Regions from separate parts of the Homo sapiens genome. Here regions 2 and 3 are each linked to region 1. The links are contacts of gene promoters, found by promoter capture Hi-C in human tissues and cell types (Jung and others, 2019). All regions are on one chromosome and are shown on one strand. The core of a region is centred on a gene start or on the middle of the fragment in contact, and the rest is flanking DNA. Distances in the headings are between cores, read along the strand shown.

Region 1 (3,012 bases), core at 357-2,856:
AGCCGCTGGGAACGGGAGAGTTGCTGGGGATTGCCAGGAAGGGACAAGGCATTTGTAGCCATGCACCATCTGCTTTTACACTACCCTAGAGTCAAGTGGACCCCCTCCAGCATTTTTTTTTCCCCGAGATGGAGTCTCACTCTGTCACCCAGGCTGAAGTGCAATGGTGTGGTATCGGCTCACTGCAACCTCTGCCTCCCGGGTTCAAGCGATTCTCCTGAGTAGCTGGGACTACAGGCGCATGCCACCACGACCGGTTAATTGCCCCTCCAGCATTGTATGTGTCTGACTGCAATGAAGTGTGAGTGTGTCTGTGTGCGACTGTGTGTGTATGATGTGAGTGTGTCTGTGTCTATGTGGGGGCCAGGTGTATAGTCTGCATATGTCTGTGCACCTCTGTGTCTCTGTGGGTTGTCTGTGCCTATGTCTCGGCTTGTGTGTGTGCATGCATGTGTGGTCTGTGTGTGTCTGTATGCATGTGGTATCTCTGGGATGTGTGTCTGTATGTCCCTGCGTGCAGTGTAGTGACTTTGGGAGTGCACATGTGTACACGTGTGGTGAGTGTGCGGCCCTGCGCGAGTTGTCTGTGTACGTGTGGTGCCTGTGGGTCTGTGTGCGCGCGTGTGCCCGTGGGTGTGGTGTGTCCTCCCGCGCTGAGGCTCCCATGAACCCAGCTCAGTTCAGGCCTCCCTGACAGTCCTCGGGCGGCCACCCCGGGGCGCGGCTGTCCACGAGGCGCGGAGGAGAGGAGTGCGTGGCTGGGTCGGCGGGCGGCGCCCCCGCTCCTCCCCGCGGGCCGGGCACACGTGGGCCCCGGGCGCCGCCTCCCCGCGCCGCCCGCCGCCCGCCGGGTCCCGCGCGTCCCCACCCACCTCGGGCCGCCCCCGCCGCCGAGCCGGCCCAGGGATAAAGTGGCGGCGCAGACGCCGCACCCTGTCGCCGCGAAGCCGGTCGCGCGCAGCTCGTCCCGGCCCTGGCCCGCCGCAAACGAGGATCCGCTGCGCTCGGGGAACGCGACAGCGGCGCTCGTGGCCCCGGTAACTGCCTCCCGGCCCCTGCCCCAGCCCGCCAGTGCCGCCGTCAGGGGTGGGGAGCAGCACTGGGGTCCCGGACACGCCCGGCGTGGGCTCCCGCTACCCATGTGTGCGTGTGTGTGTGTGCACGGTGTGTGTGCGCGCGTGTCCGAGTGTGCGCGCGTGTGCGCGCGCGCGCGCCCTCCCTGCTCCTTCGCACCAGCCCCCAAACCAACTTGTCCCCATCAACTCCATCTTTCTAGTCCCCACCTTCCCCGGTGCAGACACCCGGCGAAGCCCACCCGGTTTTCCCAGCGGCATTTCCGATGACAGCTTCGGGGCTACGTGTCCTGTGCTGTCGGAGACGCACAGGAAGCAAAGTTTGTGAGAAGCCTTGGGGGCGACTTTGCCTTGGGCACCCGCATTTGTGCGTCTGCGAGGTGCCTCGGTGTGCGCGGAGCTAGTTTCCCAGTTTCCCGGGCCCCTCCCTTCTCCGAGCCCCTCTAGCGATTTGTTTAGGAAAAGTGATGACATGAACTAGTAGTGGAGAATCGCAGCGCCGCTCCCCGCCCTGGGGAGGGAGGGGAGCCCCGGAGAGCCTGCCGGTGGGAGCTGGAAGCAGGCTCCCGGCTGAGCGCCCCAGCCCGAAAGGCAGGGTCTGGGTGCGGGAAGAGGGCTCGGAGCTGCCTTCCTGCTGCCTTGGGGCCGCCCAGATGAGGGAACAGCCCGATTTGCCTGGTTCTGATTCTCCAGGCTGTCGTGGTTGTGGAATGCAAACGCCAGCACATAATGGAAACAGGTTTGTCATGTATCCTTGGAATTTCAGATGGGAGGAATAATCTGAGTATCATCCACCTCATTATTGTGCCCACTTGAAACTGTTCCTTGGAGATTTTAAGATAGATGGGTCTTCTTGCAGCTGGGTCTTTGTACCCATAGAGCTGACTATAATTTCCACTTGATTACAGCTAAAATAGTCTTTAAGATGAAGTTTCCTGAAATGATTTAAAATAAACACAGATGGGAAGGGGGAAAAACTGTAATGAGGCACTTAAAAAATAAAGTGAGCATTTTCTTAAGAACAAATGGGATTTTTCAGTCTTGGAGAGGTTTGCAAGAAATGTATGTATGTTTTAAACCTTTGAAACAGAGGGGTTTTTTAAACTGCTTTTAAAAAAATGTTACTGACTCTGAACTAGACTTTTCTCTCCTATCCATACATGTTCTTGAGATATTTCTGACTTTGGAATATGTCACTTTTCCTTCTAGGACCTGAAGACCCTTCCAGCATGCCAGAGGAAAGTTCCCCCAGGCGGACCCCGCAGAGCATTCCCTACCAGGACCTCCCTCACCTGGTCAATGCAGACGGACAGTACCTCTTCTGCAGGTACTGGAAACCCACAGGCACACCCAAGTAAGTCTTCCCCAGAAAGTCACCCCAGGTGACAGGGGAGCATGGCCCCTGCTTCTCCTCTGGTCGTTATCATGTGCCATCTGGGGCGGGGCCGCTTTCTCTATGACCTACTTCCCCTGCCGTTTTAATGTTAGGCTGAGCAATGTTAACAAAGCTAAAATGTATACTTTATAATTTTTAAATTTAAGAAGCAGGAATTCTTTTTTCATTATAACAACTCAGATATGGATCCTACCGTATGGCAATTTTCAAAAATTCCACATGACTTTATTTTTTGTACTGGAGTTGATTTCCGGTTGTACAGGCATTCATTTAAAATCAAACCCGACAATTAAGGAAAATCCCCTAGATGGATGAGAAACCCGAAGTAATACATATATCTTCACCTTTGCTCACTTTTCCTGCTTGTTTCTGAGCTTCTGAAGATGGCATACATGTGTCACCAGGAAGAAAGGGGCCTGGGTATTTCCTTCTGATTCCTTGCCAGCTCAATTACTTTGTACATTTTCCATCAAGGATTTGTCTTGCTATTAGAAGCAAACATTGGGACTATACACAAGACAGCTGGTCTCCTGCTGCTGCTCC
Region 2 (3,168 bases), core at 585-3,084, 240 kb before region 1:
GGAACGATGATAATTTATAAAAATAAAAGCAGACTCTGCTGAACTCTAGCTGAAAGGGGTCATCCACTGAAGAGGGGGCTCAGAGCTGGCAAATCTACTTTCCTGGACAATCTTGAGAAGTACAAGTACCCATTCAACAGCTATGAAGTGCAGGCTGCCCTTGGCTGGTGAGTGGGGAGGCTCCAGCTCTCTGCTTCTCACACCAAGGATACAAGTACAGAGGATATGCTTGCGTCCACCATGTGGTCCCATCCAAATGACACCCTGCCAGGAGATGCTCCTGAGGGAGGCAGGCCTAGGGGTGGAGTGAGCTTACTGAGGGACTGAGGGATATAGGAAAGGGACCCAATCTAAGAACCAGACAACAGAGTAACAAGTGAGAGGAAGGCGGGGAGTGTGGTGCATTATTAAGGCCTAAGTTTTAGACATCAGCAAGAAATTTACTTACGTTAAAAAACTAAAAAGCGAAAAAAAGAAACAAGTGATAACCTCTGCCGTTCCAGGACAGCATAACCATCCCATAATGGAAGCCTGGCAACTCACGCTGCTTCTACTGGCAGGAAGCTGGCATTACTTCCAGAGACAGGGTCTCTGTGGGCAGTGTGGGGTCATGGTATCAGTACTCTGAGGAGCACTTTTAAAAAAGTCAAATAGGAGTCGGGCGTGGTGGCTCACGCCTGTAATCCCAGCACTTTGGGAGACTGACGCGGGCGGATCACAAGGTCAGGAGTTCAAGACCAGCCTGGCCAAGATGGTGAAACCCTGTCTCTACTAATAATACAAAAAAATTAGCCGAACATGGTGGCGGGCGCCTGTAATCCCATACTCAGGAGGCTGAGGCAGAGAACTGCTTGAACCCGGGAGGCGGAGGTTGCAGTGAGCCGAGATGGCGCCAATGCACTCCAGCCTGGGTGACAGAGCAAGACTCCGTCTCAACAACAACAAAAAGTCAAATAGGGACTGTATTTGATGGCCACTTTGGAGTACAATTAATTTTACATGACAGATTAAATAGGAAAGCTGAAACTGAAGGTCAGACTGTACTTAGAGGACCCATCTAGTACTGTGGAACTTGTCAAATGTGTCCATTCCCTTGTGCCTAACAGTGAAATAGAGTGAGATGTAAGAAATGAAGACACCCTACAAAAAGGAAAGCTTCTATTCAACCAAAATAACTTGGTAGCTGAGGGAATGGGAAGAGTAACCAAACTGATGGTATGTGGGGTTTGCCTTTTAAAAGCACATTAAATAAAAACTTGAGAAGGGATCACTTTAACCCAAAGGTAATAATTCTGTCCTCTGGACCCAGATCTGGATGGTGAGCCTAGAGAGGTGGCCCAAATCTGTAGTTCAGCTCAGGAGCCATCCAGACCCCAAGTGCCTGACATTGAGTTTCGGTGCTGCAGGTGTGACATCTCCAGATTGTGTCTCTGGATGCTGTCAGGAGTAGGTTCTGCTCCCTGATTTTCCTTTCATAGAACAAATCTTCCAACTTTCACTTTTACTCCTCCCATGACTAAAAAGCAAGTGAATCTAGGAAAAGGTGAAACTAAAGAACTCAAAAGCACTGTTCCCAAGTTTCTAACACGTGATAGCTAGGACCACCTGCTACATCTTCCTGGACCATTCCGAGATGACATGTCAGGCAGACCATCTAACCAATATGACCACTGACCTCCTCTGCTGTGGCTTCTGTGAAAGAGACACCATATCCTAACTGGCCATCATGTCCTCATCTCACCCTGTGGCGGTCTTTCGTCAATTCCCATCCTTTCCACCTTTTGGTCCTGTGTGACAAGGCTGGCCTGTTTCCCCACGGTTTCAAATTTGGGACTAATTCCCAGTTCTGCATTGTTCCTGCTGCCCAGGGAAGCAGCAGTGATTACTGTCTCTGCCTGTAGAATCTCATTCAACAGCCTCCCCTGTCCCAAGCCAAGCTGCAACATCTCCAGGCACAGCTGCAAAGCTGCCGTCCCAGCTGTGCCCTCTGTGTGGCTCTCCCTGCCCCTCCCTAGGCTCTCCCTCTAGCACCACTCACTGCCCACATGCAGGCCATGGGGCACAGCCCTTCCTGAATGCATCTCGTGTCAGCCAGGTCCCAAACACGAGCAACTGACATGTAGACACACTGACTTCAAGGCCAGACAAATCCACCTTTGCTTCTTAGTTTTCCCCCACCTTGAAAGTGCCTCTCTGGTCCCCTCTCTCAACTTGCTTCCTCCAAATGCCCTCACACAGTGCTCTCCTGTAGGATGGCTTAATTGGGGCTGGATTACTGCTGCACGCACCTAGCTGCTCTCTCTGCCTTTCAGTGCAGAGCAAATCACTTCTTCCAAACTCTGGCTCCCATTACTCAATGCCCTGCTGCAGAATGGAACATGAGCCTCTGGCGGCTACTACTGGGCTGCTAAGCCACCAGGGGCTCCCCTCTGACTTTACTTCCTTCCCACTCAGGCACTCCCCAAAAGCCAGTCACCATGATGGTCTTGACAAATACCTGAACTCCTACAATGCCATCCCCCTCTTGCCTTTTCACATCCTGTCAAACTTTGCCTTCTGGACCTGCTTCTCCCAATTTACCTTGGATTTCCTAAATTTATACAAAGTACTCAAGGAAGCATCAAATGTGATCTTGCCCACTCTTCTCTATGGCTCCCTATCTCAAGCTCCACTCTCCTTTGTAACCTGTTAGGCACATGCAGCCTTCACTTGTTTGGGGACCAGTTTTCCATCTCATTAATGAGATAATATGGTCTCTGGAGGCCAAGGACTCTGTTTCCAACATTCAATTAAAAGAAAACTCTCAAATATGCATGATTATTTCTCCTGGAATGCTCCTCAGTGAAGAAGATATTTAGTGCCAAAAAATGTTTATTTCCTTTCCCTAATAAGTCACACTCTCTAAGGCTTCCCTTGTATGTTTTGAACTTTTTATTAAAAACATGCTGTTACAAGATTTCCACGGCACTTGGTGGATGTAGCACAGCATGCCAATGTTTGATACACATCTACCAGGAGCCAGGCATCATGTAATTTCATGTTGCTTCTCACTGCATCCTGGTAACCAAGATTCAGTGGTGCAGGAATCTGCCCAAAGCCACGTATGTATGACTAACAGGAACAGCCAGGATTTGAACGCAGGTGCTAAGCTCCAAGTTCAGGCCTTTT
Region 3 (3,006 bases), core at 372-2,871, 240 kb after region 1:
CAACCTGAGCCCCAGCCCATGGCCCGCCCCCTTCAGAGTCTTCCCTCCCTTTCATCCAGAGGTGTTCTGGTGTTTAAGGGCTTGGACCAGCAATGGAAATATTCCTAAGTCCCCCCACCCCTGTCTTGGGCTGCTATTGTTCAGGGATAGCTTTGGTGACAACACAAGCAGGGCTCCTGTTGCGTTTCTGCAGACCTTGCTGACAGGCATGCAGCTCACTGGGCGGCTCCTTGCTGAAGGGGAGGCCTGGGCCTTTGATGTGTTGTCGGGACAAATCTTTTTTCTTTTTCTTTTTTTTTTTTTTTTGAGATGGAGTCTCGCTCTGTCGCCCAGGCTGGAGCACAGTGGCACCATCTCGGCTCACTGCAAGCTCCGCCACCTGGGTTCATGCAATTCTTCTGCCTCAGCCTCCTGAGTAGCTGGGACTATAGGCACATGCCACCATGCCCAACTAATTTTTTTTTTTTTTTGTATTTTAGTAGAGATGGGGTTTCACCATGTTGTCTAGGCTGGTCCCGAACTCCTGAGCTCAGGCAATCTGCCCGCCTCGGCCTCCCAAAGTGCTAGGATTACAGGCATGAGCCACCGCGCCCGGCCACATCTTTTTTACTTTTTAAAATTTACTGAAGTACACCTATGACTTAGGAGTCATCGGTGTGTGGCTTGATGAATTACCACACAGTGAACACACCTGTGTACCCACCACCTGGATCTGACACCCAGACGCTGGCAGGCCTCCCCCAATTACCATGCGCTTCATCTCCCCAAAGGCGCCCTGTCTGCATTTCTCCACGGATCATACGCCTGTCGGCCCTTGTGCCTGGCTTCACGCTATATCACTTCTGAGAGTCATTCGTGTTGCCTGTAGCAGTGGGTTGTTCTTTTTATGCTGTGCAAGTGTCAACCGTAGGAACCTGCCACCATTTATGCCCATGCTCTGGGGCTGCTCCCCGCCTGGGGCTGTCATCCACAGCCTTTACAAGCATTCCTGGTGAAGCAGAGTCACAGGCATCTGGCCCAATCTGTTCAAATCATTCTAAATGTTGGCATCTGTTACGTTCTGGTGCCCCAGGCCACACCTGGATCACCCCGAACTCCCTGCGGAAGTACCTGTTGCTGCCTCCTGAGAGTCCTCTAGCTTAGGAGTCTTGGTTTTCCGACCAGACCCTCAGTCCCCTAACCCCAGAGTGGTTCCCAGGACCCCAGACCACCAGCTCTCCTGTCTTCCAGGCTAGACTCGACCTCTCATGCTCAGAGTGTCATGTGGACCTCTGGCCTATGGACCCACCCTGTCCCTGGCTTCACCCTGCAGCGTGGCCATTGCAGACACACTTGCCTTGCCCCTCTGTGGTACAGCCTCTTCCCCCATGCCCATCTCCAGTTGGAGACCTCCTGTGCATCTTCTAGGCATGGCTCAGTGTCCCCTCCATCTTTGTCTGTGGTGGCAGAGGGAGACAAGGGCCAGAGGGTGCAACCGAGGAGGGCATGGTGCTCAGCTCTGGCCCTCAGCAGCGCTGTGGCCTCACACAAGTCAGTGGCCTCTGAGTTCTGCATGGTGTGGCAGGTCAGAACCATGGCTGACCGCTACCAAGAACTCCTCACGTGTGTGCCTTGTTTGAGGCACTCGGCATCACCACAGCCTCACTTGTTACACCCATTCCATGGTGGGGGGACACAGGCACGGAGAGGACAGGAAGGAAGGGGCAGGGCTGGGCTGTGAACCCAGAGCCTATGCTCTTACCCACGCTGCTCTCATGGGCCCTCAGGACTGAAAGGAGCCAAGTGGCTGTGCCTTGCACATGGAGATGCTTAGCTGAGGGGGTGGCTTTGTTAGACTATTTGCAGGTCGTGAGATAGAGCCTGAGATGGGGGACTGGGCCCCTGCCTGGGGGATTGGGTCGTGACCTGTGTGGAGCCCCACACTGAGCTGCAGTGGGTGGGGAGGGTGGTTTACAGGGGTGCTCTGTGCAGCCCCTCTGATTTTCCCCTGGGAGTCCCAGGTCCAGGGGAAGGAGGACAGTGGCCCAGGCCACACAGCTCACTGGGCGGCTCTCACTCCCCCAGGGCTGGCTGCTGGCGGGATGGACACCCTGGAGGAGGTGACTTGGGCCAATGGGAGCACAGCGCTACCCCCACCCCTGGCACCAAACATCAGTGTGCCTCATCGCTGCCTGCTGCTGCTCTACGAAGACATTGGCACCTCCAGGTGAGGCAGTCACAACGCTGGGCAGGCTCGCTGAGTGTCAGTGGCTTTTCCTGGTGTAGGGGGGTGGTGAGGGTGGGGCAGATTGTGTCTTGGAGAGGGGGTGCATATGTGGCCTCGCCAGTGAGCCAGCTCCTGTGCCCATCCGCCAGGGTCCGGTACTGGGACCTCTTGCTGCTCATCCCCAATGTGCTCTTCCTCATCTTCCTGCTCTGGAAGCTTCCATCTGCTCGGGCGAAGATCCGCATCACCTCCAGCCCCATTTTTATCACCTTCTACATCCTGGTGAGTTCACTGCAGTTGACAGAAAAGCCAACTCCAACTGGGTTAAACAAAAAGGGAATTAACTGCTTCTATAATGAAAATAAGCTTCAGGTATGGCTGGATCCAGGCAGTTAAATGATATCGTTAGGATCTGTTTCTGCATCTCTGATCTCTTTGGGACTTATCTCAGATGAGTTCCCCTCATATGGTGTCAAAGATGGCCAGGAGCAACTTTGAGCTAACATCCTGCCTCTACAACTCAGGCAAACAGTGCCTGTTTGCTGATAGTGCCAGTGTAGACCTGGGATTTCCTCTGACTGGCCCACCTAGGATCCCATCCTCATCCCTGAGCCAAGCACTGTGGCTAGCAAGGAAAGGGGCACTGTGAAGCTGGGAGGGCAGCATCAGCTCAGCTGGACCATATGGACTGAGGGAGCCCACAACAGAATTGGGGAGCTGGTACTAGAGGGGAGGGGAATGGATGCTGGGTGGGGAAAATGCCCACTGCATCCTCCATCCATTCGTCCCCCATCTGTCCA

The links. Contacts are between HindIII fragments. The study calls those that stand out against the background at their distance.
Region 2: a contact is called between a fragment that was not itself captured here and the fragment with the promoter of MGLL in region 1, in 1 of the 25 tissues and cell types used here (IMR-90 fibroblasts).
Region 3: a contact is called between a fragment that was not itself captured here and the fragment with the promoter of MGLL in region 1, in 1 of the 25 tissues and cell types used here (small bowel).

Annotation. Positions count from the first base shown.
Region 1 is chr3:127,821,109-127,824,120 of GRCh38, reverse strand. MGLL (monoglyceride lipase) reads left to right here and starts at 1,606. Exons shown (of 8, transcript NM_007283.7): 1 at 1,606-1,812; 2 at 2,283-2,427. The coding sequence starts at 1,803. RefSeq lists a silencer at 645-1,164. The HindIII fragment of the contact is 31,525 bases long and covers 1-3,012 here.
Region 2 is chr3:128,061,122-128,064,289 of GRCh38, reverse strand. All of the region lies in intron 7 of SEC61A1 (SEC61 translocon subunit alpha 1), which reads right to left. Among named protein-coding and RNA genes, the nearest start is that of SEC61A1, 10 kb to the right of the region's middle. The HindIII fragment of the contact is 4,484 bases long and covers 1-3,168 here.
Region 3 is chr3:127,579,222-127,582,227 of GRCh38, reverse strand. It overlaps TPRA1 (transmembrane protein adipocyte associated 1), which reads left to right. Exons shown (of 11, transcript NM_001136053.4): 2 at 2,065-2,206; 3 at 2,356-2,488. The coding sequence starts at 2,082. Among named protein-coding and RNA genes, the nearest start is that of MIR6825, 5.4 kb to the right of the region's middle. RefSeq lists an enhancer at 1,630-2,591. The HindIII fragment of the contact is 6,986 bases long and covers 1-3,006 here.